Regions from separate parts of the Homo sapiens genome. Here region 2 is linked to region 1. The links are contacts of gene promoters, found by promoter capture Hi-C in human tissues and cell types (Jung and others, 2019). All regions are on one chromosome and are shown on one strand. Each heading gives the region's core, a stretch centred on a gene start or on the middle of the fragment in contact. The rest is flanking DNA. Distances are from core to core; before and after follow the strand shown.

Evidence for each region. The method cuts DNA at HindIII sites, captures the fragments that hold promoters and counts their contacts. A contact is called where the count stands out against the background at its distance.
Region 2: a contact is called between a fragment that was not itself captured here and the fragment with the promoter of VSX1 in region 1, in 2 of the 25 tissues and cell types used here (aorta and neural progenitor cells).

The regions. Positions count from the first base shown.
Region 1 is chr20:25,078,751-25,084,487 of GRCh38, reverse strand. VSX1 (visual system homeobox 1) reads left to right here and starts at 2,347. Exons shown (of 5, transcript NM_014588.6): 1 at 2,347-2,815; 2 at 4,974-5,052; 3 at 5,536-5,659. The coding sequence starts at 2,392. RefSeq lists enhancers at 1-460, 461-1,065, 1,829-2,358. The HindIII fragment of the contact is 6,188 bases long and covers 1-4,644 here.
Region 2 is chr20:25,158,999-25,165,096 of GRCh38, reverse strand. It overlaps the pseudogene NIPAL1P1. Among named protein-coding and RNA genes, the nearest start is that of ENTPD6, 34 kb to the left of the region's middle. The HindIII fragment of the contact is 4,276 bases long and covers 1-3,818 here.

The DNA of each region.
Region 1 (5,737 bases), core at 1,098-3,597:
ACAGATGAGCGCAGCGTCGGGTGGGGGGCGTTTCTCACTGTAGGAGGCTATGAAAATGTCCTCCCGCGCTGGGCTCCTGCCACCGCCACGCTGCGAAACACAAGGTGACCCAGGACACAACTCGCCCACCGCTGGGGTCCTGCAGGCCCCTCCCTGGCATTGGGGTCCCGGGATGCATTAGGAACGCCCCAGTCCAGGAATTGCAAGACCCCTTAGAAGTTCGTTCCTTCTGCATCTCTGAGTCCCCTTAGAGCTCCAATACGGGCTCCTTGATTGAGTCTCCTGCTCTGTGTCGCCCTCGCCACGTCTCTGTGTCCGATGTGACTGGGTTAATAAGTCCCAGTTGCTCTCACCTGCAAAATGAGTTTAAGACGATCCTTCCCGAGGCGCCGCGGTCACTATAGAGAGTGTCTGAGGCTGGGCTCCTACCGCCTGGCCTTTTGGTGTCTTTGGATCACTGGCTATCTACTCGGGGTCTGTCACTCCCGTGATCGCCTACCTTCCAGGGAGACCTAGGGGAGGGAGACCCCAAGACCTGTCCCAGGTGAGGCCACTTGGTCGGCACCCGGGGCTGCAGGCACGGCGCCCGCGTCCGCCCTCGCCCCTTAGGCTTTCCATTCGCGGGCGACCCCGGTCGGGCCACCTTAGAATCGACTACCCTGCCTGCCTGACTGGTCTCGGGCTACAAACTGTGTGGAAGCGTAGGTATCTCACTTAACTGCTACCCCAAATTCGGATTTACAAACGACTACGCAGTCCCGAATGCCCAACGCCTTCCCTAAACCCAGAGATAAATCTGGGGGAAAATTCCTCGCGGAGCGGAAAACAACGCCAGCGTCTAAAGCGTTCTGCCCCGAGCTGGAGTGGTTCAAAAGACAATGATCTCAAAAGAAAGTGATTGTTTTGGTAATCCCGGGAACAGCTTGCAAGGGGGAGATTTGGGTCTTCCTTTAGTAACGGAAAGTCAATGCGCAGCCTCCTGTAATTATCCTTATCGGAAGCCCCTTGTTTAATCTGCATGTTTAGCGGAGGCCCCACTCGAACGCGCAGCGAGTGGGAGACCCACTTTGCAGGGCCCAGGCTCGGGCTCCGGTCCCTGCGTGCGCGCAGGCAGCCGCGCCGGGTTCCCGCGGAGCTCAGGCGTTTGCTCCTCCCTCGCTGCGGGACCTCGGACTGTAGGACCCTCAGGGAGTGGGACTGAGGAGATCTGCTTCCGGGGTTCTGGGATTGGGAAGCGGGGGACGCAGGGCTCCGAGCGATGAGGGCTGGTTGGGTTCAAAGCGCGAACCAGTAGTTACTTACCCACGTGCTTGGGGCCAACTTTAGCGAATATCAGAGTTTCACTGATTATTCAAAGAATCAGGCTTTCTTTGAATAATCGTGAAATTGGACAATAAATTGTAAGCCCCGATGAAAAGGTGTGCTTTCCAGTAGACAGACTCTATTTTATTTCAATTTACCTCCCTCCACTCCTCCCCAATTTAGGGTTGCTGGATAAAATACTGATACATACTCCTACAAAAAAAAAAAGCCCTCCTTTTTTATCTGAAATCACATTTCACTGAGCCGACAGTGTTTTGTTGGTTAAACCTGGTACCCTGCCCGTCTCAGCCCCGGGCAGTCCACTCCTCTCTCTGCTTCTCTCCCTTTCCCCAGCTCTTGTGAGTCTGCCACCCCCTACAGTTCAGCCCGTGGAGTGTTGGGGATGGACCTGGGGGTGGATTTGGATGGAGGTAGAATGACCATGGATTAAAGGGATGGAGGTAGGATGACCATGGATTAAATACACGGTTTTCATTCCTTTCCCCTTGGGGATTTTCAGAGAAGGCCTTCTTACAGGAAGGCCTTCGTGGCACCGGCGGCGGAGGTGGAGGGCTGGCTGGGGACATATATGGGGTAGCCATCGGGGTGTGGTTGGGAATGGGGTCCTAGGTCTTAATAGGCAGTTGGGTCGCATCAAAGAAGCTTCAGGGCAGCTGGGAGTGGGGCCTCCACCCAGAGAGTCTGGAAGGAAGGAGAAGGCCACGCCAGGATGTAGAACTTGCGACTTTTCGAGGGACAGGCAGACAGCGGAGTCACTGTCCCTTACCTTCTTTCCTCCCCTCCCTCCTAGAATGGGGGTGGGGTGGGGTGGGGTGGGCTGGACAGAAGAGAGGAGGAGAAGGAGGTGACTGAGGGGACTGCAGCTGGGTGGGCGGTAACCGAGGGGAGGGGAACTGGTGGCGTCCCCATCTCGCGGGGTCCGGAACGGCGACGCGCCCGCGCCCAGCTGATTGGAGCCCTTCAGGCCTCCCGCGCCCGACCGGCAGCCCAATCCTATAAAGCTTCCTCTAAGCTGGGCCCTCCGCAAACGGGATCCAGAGAGGCTCGCGCCTTGCTTGCTAAGGAACCATGACCGGCCGGGACTCGCTTTCCGACGGGCGCACTAGCAGCAGGGCGCTGGTGCCTGGCGGTTCCCCTAGGGGCTCGCGCCCCCGGGGCTTCGCCATCACGGACCTGCTGGGCTTGGAGGCCGAGCTGCCGGCGCCCGCTGGCCCAGGACAGGGATCTGGCTGCGAGGGTCCGGCAGTCGCGCCGTGCCCGGGCCCGGGGCTTGACGGCTCCAGCCTGGCGCGTGGGGCCCTACCGCTGGGACTCGGCCTCCTCTGTGGCTTCGGCACGCAGCCGCCGGCGGCCGCTCGAGCACCCTGCCTGCTCCTAGCGGACGTGCCGTTCCTGCCGCCCAGGGGCCCCGAGCCCGCTGCCCCGCTGGCTCCCAGCCGTCCGCCGCCTGCGCTCGGCCGCCAGAAGCGCAGCGACAGCGTCTCCACGTCCGGTAATCAGGCCCGCGCTTTCCGCTCCTGCCCCTGTCCCCTAGGCTCTGAGCCGCGCAGGGGTCACAGACCATCGCCCCACCGCACCCCTGGCCCCAGCGGCCCAGATCTAGGCGGGGAGCCCAGAGCGAGGCCCCGTCGCGGGAGGGGCATTCGCGGAGCTGCGCCGCCTGCCCCTTGCTGCATCCTAAATCCCTGCCTCTCATCCGGGGTCCTGTTCCCTCAGCGATGTGAGACCGCCACCACCTGGTTCCGGGTGGAACCTTTTGATGAGACCCTGGGGTCTTCAACAACCATCTCCAGAGGGCCATTTTTCCCCCCAGCGCCAGGCGCCAGTCTCCGCCTCTGGCAGCTGCGTGGGTCGGGAAGGCCCGGGCCTGTGGTGGTCACCAGCAGCACCGAACAAGGTACCAGGTGGAAACGCGGGCGGAAATGATCGAATGATTGACGGGTCCTGGAAGAGTACGGGGCCTCGAGCCCTGGAACTGTCCGCCCCTTGGGGTGCTGAAAAGGGAGTCCCGGGTACCGCGCTCCTCTGCCGGCGCAGCGTCCTCCCAGTCCCCTGTGCAGGAGAAAGAAGCAACCTTGGGGATTCATTGTAGTTACGCCTAGAGATGTGTTCCTGGCCTACCCATTTCCCCAAAGAAATCCAGACGGGTCGCGGGGAAAGAGAAGGAAGCAATGAAATTCTATAAAGGACAAGGGCTAAGGAAACGAGTGGTTTTGGGTGTGGGAGAGAAAAGAAAGAATTACACAAGAAAGGATGGTATGTGGTAGAATCTAGAGCTGAGCATCCAGGCAGCCAAGGCAAAAAGAGTAGACTGGGTCTTCTGATACTAAAAGGAAGCATGTCAGATCAATAGGCAGGCAGGTTTTTGCTCCACTCTAAAAGGACTTTATTTCATGAGCTCTACGTAAGATAAAATGAAACTCCCTATTAGTGTCACTAAAAATGCAAAACTGTTTTCATGGGATGGGTTCTTTCTTACAAAACCAAAGGCAGCTAAATCCAACTCTGCCAGCATTTCTGAAAGTCTGGAGCAGAGCTGTCCAAGAAAAATGAAATGTGATTTCATGTTTGACGGAAATTTCTCACAGTCACATTAAAAGTGAAATGAATCTAAATACTATATTTTAACCCAACAATGATAGCAAATATTATCATTTTACACATAATCAATACAAAAATATTTTACTTTTTAGGAGCACTAAGTCTTCTAACTCCATTAAGTGATTTATGTTTACAGCATGTCTTGATCTTACTGGCCACATTTCATGTGCTTAATAACCTTATGTGTCTCATGTCTCATCAGGTTGGACAGCCCAATACAGAATGTTTTAATCCAAGCCAGGTTTCTGGTGAACTAATTGATGGATGAGTAAAACTAGTATTATTTAGTTATTTTTGCCTTTATTCATTTTAAAGATATTTTGAGGCAATTATGCCTTCTAGCAATGAATCTCACAATAGTTTGGCCTTCTAACCTTCTTTTCCATCTAGACTTTTTGATGTATTGGATATAAAAAGGTAAAGCACAGTGGAGTGGTTCTCAAATTTTCAAGGGCAACTACACATCATCTGAGCACACTTGTCAAGAATGAGCCTCCTAGATCCCACCTCCAGAGATTCTGATTTGGTGCATCAGGGAAGGGTTGCAGTTCTGACGAGGGTTCTGATGTCACAAGCCCCAGACTTCCTTTGGGAAATGTTGGTGTAGAGGTTAAGATGATGAGGCTGGGGGCATAGGGGTGGATGTGTTTGGAAGCAGTGTGGGGATAGAAAGTGCAATCAGTGGCTGAGTAGTTTTGGCTTCAGATAATCTGGGATTTGAATTCTCAACTTCACCATTTACTACCTGTGTGATTTTGGGCAAATTACTTAACCATTCGGTGCCTCAGTTTCCTCATCTGTAAAAATAGGATGATAATAATAGCAGCAGCCATTTTGGTGTTTTATTATTATATTAAGAATACTTGAGATAATGTATGGACAGTGTTAAGCACAGAGCCTGGGATCTAGTAGGCACTAAAAATGCTGGCTCATACTGTAAACTACTTAAGTACCCAAGAGGTTCATAACTTCAATCCTCACATTAAAATCCAGGAAATAGAGGGGATATGATCACCCTTAAAGTCCTCTTCTTCTTTCTGTGCCATCAGATGAGGACAGCCAGTCTGAAGACAGGAATGACCTAAAGGCATCCCCCACCTTGGGCAAGAGGAAGAAGCGGCGGCACAGGTATAGGGCCAGGCAGTCCCCTCTGCCTGCCTTTCCTCGGGACACAGCCCAAGGTTTATGGCACCTGCATCTGAGAATTTATGGCCCGGCATGATAGCAGGCCCAGTGGTTTCCTGGTTGGCAATGGGAAGGGCACAGAAGCCATTTGGGAAGATAATTCTGCAGTTCCTAGGAGGCTGGGAAAATGCTACAATCTTGCTAGCATTTTTTTGGGAGCATTTTAAAGACAATTTTGTGGATCTGTCAAATGGATTTTGTCAGAATGAGCTGATGGAATTCATTAAGAAAGAGCTAAAGAACTGTTTTCGTTTGAATCAAATTTCTGGACATCAGCTAATCATTCAGAGGTGGGGTGTTCCATTATCATGAAGTGGCTTCTAGGGTCTGGACAGCAGAGGAAGCAGGCACGGTGGTCCTTAAGGCCAGGGAGGCTGCTGTCCCCAGGGGACATGTGCCCACCTGTGTGTTTTGGGGTCCTTGCAGGACAGTTTTCACTGCTCACCAGCTGGAAGAGTTGGAGAAGGCATTCAGCGAGGCCCACTACCCTGATGTGTATGCCCGAGAAATGCTGGCTGTGAAAACTGAGCTCCCCGAAGACCGGATACAGGTGTCTGGGGTCCCTTTTCTCCGCTCCAAAGATACCACAGAGAACGTGTCATTCCCACATTCAGTGAGCCAATCAGCA
Region 2 (6,098 bases), core at 431-2,930, 81 kb before region 1:
TTTGTAACAGGATGCAATTGGAGAAACTACTTAATTTACCAAGGCTTTGACTGGAATGGCATGTTTTCCTTTTAAGAATCAAAATTGACTTATAGAGCCAATAAAAGCCCCTTGGAAAATTGGCCTCATACATTGTCTGCATAGTCCCTGTACAGGGTTTCCAACCTGTGGTAAGTAAAGAATGTCACTATTTTTTTTTTTGAGATGGAGTCTCACTCTGTCACCCAGCCTGGAGTGCAGTGGTGCAATATCAGCTCACTGCAACCTCTGCCTCCCAGGTTCAAGCGATTCTGCTCTTTCAGCCTCCCAAGTAGCTGGGACTACAGGTGCACACCACCATGCCCAACTAATTTTTGTATTTTTAGTAGAGATAGGGTTTCACCATATTGGCCAGGCTGGTCTCAAACTCCTGACCTCATGATGTGCCTTCCTTGGCGTCCCAAAGTGCTGGGATTACAGGCATGAGCCACCATGCCTGGCCAAGTATGTCACTTTCTAACAGGCCCAGGAGCCCCAAATTACCTTGTGACCACAAGAGAAAAGGAATTTCCCAACTTATAGGTATTTGAGGGTACAAACTCAAGGCTGCGCTTGGCTTCGTAAAAAGTCTTATCTGAGATTCATTTTATGGAACAATGTTCCATCAAAGCCAATTAAAAAAGCCTATGTGAAAATTATTCTTGCTGCACTTTACAAATAATCTGGCCAAGTATAAGACTAAAGCTTATTTTTGCAAACAAATTCATTCTACCATGATTTGTCTTTAGTAAAAATGTGAGACAGGGGAGAGAAAAATTATGTTTCAAAAACTGTGGTACACTTGTTATCAGATTCTAGTCTTATCAGTTGTTTTTGAACTGTTTTTCACCATACCGATGCTTTCTGACTCAGCTCCTCTCTACCCTGGGTATGAGATGCCCTAATAGTTAGGCAGGAATATCATTGCCCCTATTCAGCCTGAAGAAGTTAAAGAAGATAGATCTTCATCTGCTTACAGCCTTTAGGATTAAAGGTTCCCTTGTAAAAGGGAGGGGGGAAATATGCCAGAGGTGTTTGAACCAGAGCAACTCAATCTTGAATAGGGGTTGGGTAAAATAAGGCTGAGACCCATGGAGCTGCATTCCCAGGAGGTGGGGCATTCTAAGTCACAGGATGAGATAGGGGGTTGGCACAAGATACAGGTTACAAAAACTTTGCTGATAAAAGAGTGCAGTAAAGAAGCTGGCCAAAACCTACCAAAACCAAGAGGGCAATGAAAGTGACCTCTGGCTCATTATACACTAATTATAATGTGTTAGCATGCTAAGAGACATCCCACCAACACCACAACAGTTTATAAATGCCATGACAATGTCAGGAAGTTTCCCTATATGGTCTAAAAACGGGAGGAACCCTCAGTTCTGGTAATTGCCCACCCCTTTCCTCAAAAACTCATGAATAATCCATCCCTTGTTTAGCCTATAATCAGGAAATAACCATAAAAACAGCCAACCAGCAGCCTCAGGGCTGCTCTGCCTATGGAGTAGCCATTCTTATATTCCTTTACTTCCTTAATAGACTTGATTTCACTTAATAAAAAGAAATTATAGTATACACATGCAAAGGAATATTATTTAGTCCTTAAAAAGAAGGAAATCCTGCCATTTGTGACAACATAGATTGACCCAGAGGACATTATGTTAAGCAAAGTAAGCCAGGCACAGAAAGACAAATGCGGCAGGATCTCATTTATGGATGTATCTTAGTCCATTTGTGCTGCTATAACAAAATATCTGGGACTGGGTAACTTATAAGCAACAAAAATTTATTTCTTATGTTTCTGGAGGCTGGGAAGTCCAAGATCAAGACACTAGCATTGGTGTCTGATGAAGGCTGCTCCCTGCTTCCAAGATGGTGTCTTGTTGCTGCTTCCTCCAGAGGGATGCATGTGTCCTCACATGGAGGAAGATAGAAGGGTGAAAGAGCACTCCTTTTGACCTTGAGCCTTTTAATAAGGGTGCTAATCCCATCCATAAAAGTAGAGCCCTCATGACTTAATCACATCCCAAAGACCATACCTCTTAATACTACTGCACTGGGGATGGCTTCAACATAAATTTTGGAGGGGATGCCATCATTCAAACCATAGCAATGTGGACTCTAAAATAATCAAACTCAAAAGCAGAGAGTAGAATGGTGGTTTTCATGGGCTGTGGGGAGGGGGAAATGAGGAGATGATGATCAGAAGGTACGAAGCTTCAGTTATCCAGGATGAATGAGCTCTGGAGATTTGTGTGGCATGATGCCTATAGGTAACAATACTGCATTGTATACCTAAAATTTACTAAGGCAAGTTGATCTTATGGTAAGTGTTATTATCAAAACAGTGATGAAAACAAAATCCAAATACAAATAATAAAGGGGCTGGGTGCAGTGGTTCACAGCTGTAATCCCAGCACTTTGGGAGGCCAAGGTAGGTGGATCACTTGAGGTCAGGAGTTTGAGACCATCCTGGCCAACATGGTGAAACCGTGTCTCTACTAAAAATACAAAAATTAGCTGGGCATAGTGGCCTGTGCCTGTGATCCCAGCTGCTCAGGAGGCTGCTGTGGGAGGATCACTTGAGCCTGGGAGGCAGAGGTTGCAGTGAGCCATGATCGTGCCACTGCACTCCAGCGTGTGTGACAGAGCAAGACTGTCTCAATAATAATAATAATAATAATAATAATAATAATAATAATAATAAAGGGGTGGGAGAAAACTTTGGGAGGTGATGGATGTGTTTATGGCCTTGATGGTGGTGATGATTTCACAGGTACATACGTATCCCCAAACTTATCGAAATGTATACATTAAATATATACAGCTTTTTGTATGTTCATTTTACCTCAATAGAGTGGTTTTCTTTAAAAAAAGAATTAACAACAATCTGGCAGGTCCATGGGGAGGAGAGGCCCAGGTGGCTGAGGAAAGAGCGTCTGCATCCTGGAGCCCCGTCTGGGGACATGGGGGCACATGTGAGGCTGTGGCACAGAGAGCCCTGCCGAGAAGGATATGGCTCCAGCTTCATATTGAAAAAGAAGGGTCTTTTGCAACTGGCCAACAAAAGCATCACTGGAGCTGGACAAGGTGGACATTCTGACCTGAAGGATGGCTCTGGGGGACAGGAGTGCTGGCCATGGGAGCAGGAGAGGCTGCACATTTTGCTGCTTATGCTTTTGCACCTGCCATCTTGGTCACCCTCACCCCCCCGGCCCTCTGAGTGTTCTCATAAGTGCAATATTATCTTCCTATTTTTTAAACGAGCACTTGAACATTTATGGGAAAACAGGCTGCATATTGGGGTCAACTGTGATGGTTATCCATGCCCCAGAAGAAGAGGAAGTCACTTCTTTGCATGAAATGGAAATGAAATTGAGAGACCCAGGATTTATTTCCTTTGCTGTGATCATAATTGTGATCTTGGTGCTGATTTTGATTGTGGCTCCCAAGAAAGGACAGACCAATATATTGGTCTATATTTCAATCTGTTCTTTGGCTGCAGCATTTTCAATTTCTCCTGCCAAAGGCCTGGGTATTGCCATTAAGGAATTACTAGAATGGAAGCCAGTTTAGAAGCATCCCCTGGTCATTGTTTTGCTGGCTATACTTGTGTTTTTGGTGACTACACAGATTAACTATCTCAAGGCACCAGACACCGTGAATACATCTCCTGTGACTCCCATTTATTTTGCGTTCTTCACATCCATGGTAGTGACTTGCTCTGCCATCTTACTCCAAGAGTGGTATGGCATGAAAACTGGAGATATCATCGAGACCCTGAATGGATTCTTCACTATTATCCTTGGCATCTTTCTTCTACATGCTTTTAAAAATACTGACATTACCTGGAGTAAGCTGACATCCACTGCTAAGAAAGAAGTCATCTCTCTGAATGGCAATGAGAGCAGTCCTGTTTTACTAGAGAACTTGGAGTGTTCAGCCCTGGATACAATGATAACGTTACCTTGTTTAGCAGAACTGATGATTGAAGTCTCTAGAAACACTGAATTTTAACCAGTATGAGACAGTCAAAGAGGAAAATGAATGCTTGCTTCTTGGAACTAGGAAAGTTAGCATTTTTGAAGTTCTAACTAATTTAGATGTGAGGCCAAGTACGAATGCCATCTTTTTGGCCATTAAATTTGAAAATCAGATTGATTCTCCTCCAGAAGACGTCTGCTGCTTTTCATTTCTGCAAATTTTGAAGTATTCCCTAGGGATCAAAGAAGTCAAAGAGCTATGTGTGTCTCAGAATAGTCTCTTTCTTCTGGCCACAATATATTTGTCTCTGCCAGGTGGCTCTTCATTTTTTCCTTGGTGGCTATGACTTACATTCATCAATAGAAAGTTAGCAGTGTTCTGATAAGCAGAGTATCAGTCATTTTCTCTGATGAGTCATAATTTCAAATTATTGAAACTGAGAAGTGAGATCACCGGTGCTTTGTCCTCCCTTCTGCAACTTCTTTCTTCCTAAACTGGTTAGCTAATTAATTATCTTAAGGGAAAAACAAGCCTGCTGTGGAAATTTATTCCTTAATGGGCTAGAATACACAAGACATACCCACCCGTGAAGAGCTTATGAATTGTAACTTACTGACATATCGTAAGAATTTACTACCCATTAAAGAGGAAGAATGGAGGAAGAGAAAAATACTTTAGACCTCAAATAAAGGAAACTGTTTTTTTCTTTTCACAAAAACAACACACATGCTATTGTTTTCACAGGTCCCTTTAATTAACTCAGACCTGGATGACATAAAATGAAGTTTCTGAAGAAGTTCAGGTAAATTCAGCTTTGGAGTCACTTATGTTCATTTTGTTCCTTTATTTTACTATTATCCCAAAGGTTATTTTTCTTGTTGACATAGAGATTTTTTTGTAAAATAATCACTGGGTTATTTCAGGATTATACTGTACACTTCAATTGTTCTCAAGTGTTTTATCCCTAAAGGGTGAGTTTTCCATAGACTGTGTGGAAACAGCTAGAAAATTCTTTGTGAAAAATCTGAATGAATTATCTTAACGGCTGTCTTGAAATTTGGTACTTCCTCCCTTATTAAGGAAATTATGATTAGTTACTAATCTTTAAAAATAGGTATATCCTAATAGAGAGTCAACTTCCTGCAAAACAAAATATTAATGCCTCAGGGGCTACTGCAGGACAAAACCTTTTGCACATTAAAATGTCCGTAACAATTTCCTATTTCAAATGCATGGCAGCAATTCCATTTTTGGTGGTCTTTAACATAATGGACAGATTTACTATCACTTACTGATTTTATGGAAAAGGAATTGGCTATCTTATTTCTATACTAAACTTATTTTTCTTATCTTATTTCTTATCTCTTATGTCTTTTTCTTATCTTATTTCTATACTAAGCTTATTTTTCTCAAAACAAAAATTCTAACTGAAAAGTTGTCATTAAAAAAAATTTCAGGTTGACTGGATTTTTTCTGCTGTAACTTTAAATGTTATTAGGTTTTGTTTCTTGTTTCTAAGGTAGCTCAAGTCTTCCCAAGGTAATAATAGTAAATCTTATTCTTCAGAATTCTTTTAAGCTGACTTCAGCTTTTCCCCAGTTTTATTAAACTATGACCAATGTTCACAATGACAACCTGAGATGGCTGCAAGGCCCTAATGTGCCATTGTAGTCTTTCAGCACAGTGTAGTGTTGAGTACGATTCCATGCATTCTAAATTTTTGAAAATTGATGATCCATGGAAGGTCCATGGAATTATACCTCAGATCAAATATGTGTTTACTCCGTTCATTGCTGTTTCACTTTAGTTGTATATCAGACATATAAGCTATGAACACAAGTTTGTAGGAAAAGTATCTTCTGGCTGGGTGGTGGCTCACACCTGTAATCCCAACATTTTGGGAGGCCGAGGTGGGAGGATTACTAGATCCCAGGAGTAGTTTCAGACCAGCCTGGGCATTGCAAGACCCCATCACTAAAAAAGAAAGTAAGAAATATCAACTGAGTGTGGTGGTGTGCACCTGGAGTCCCAGCTATGTCAGGAGGCTGAGTTGTGAAAGTATCTTCTGAAAACATAGCATTTGAAAACTGCAGAAA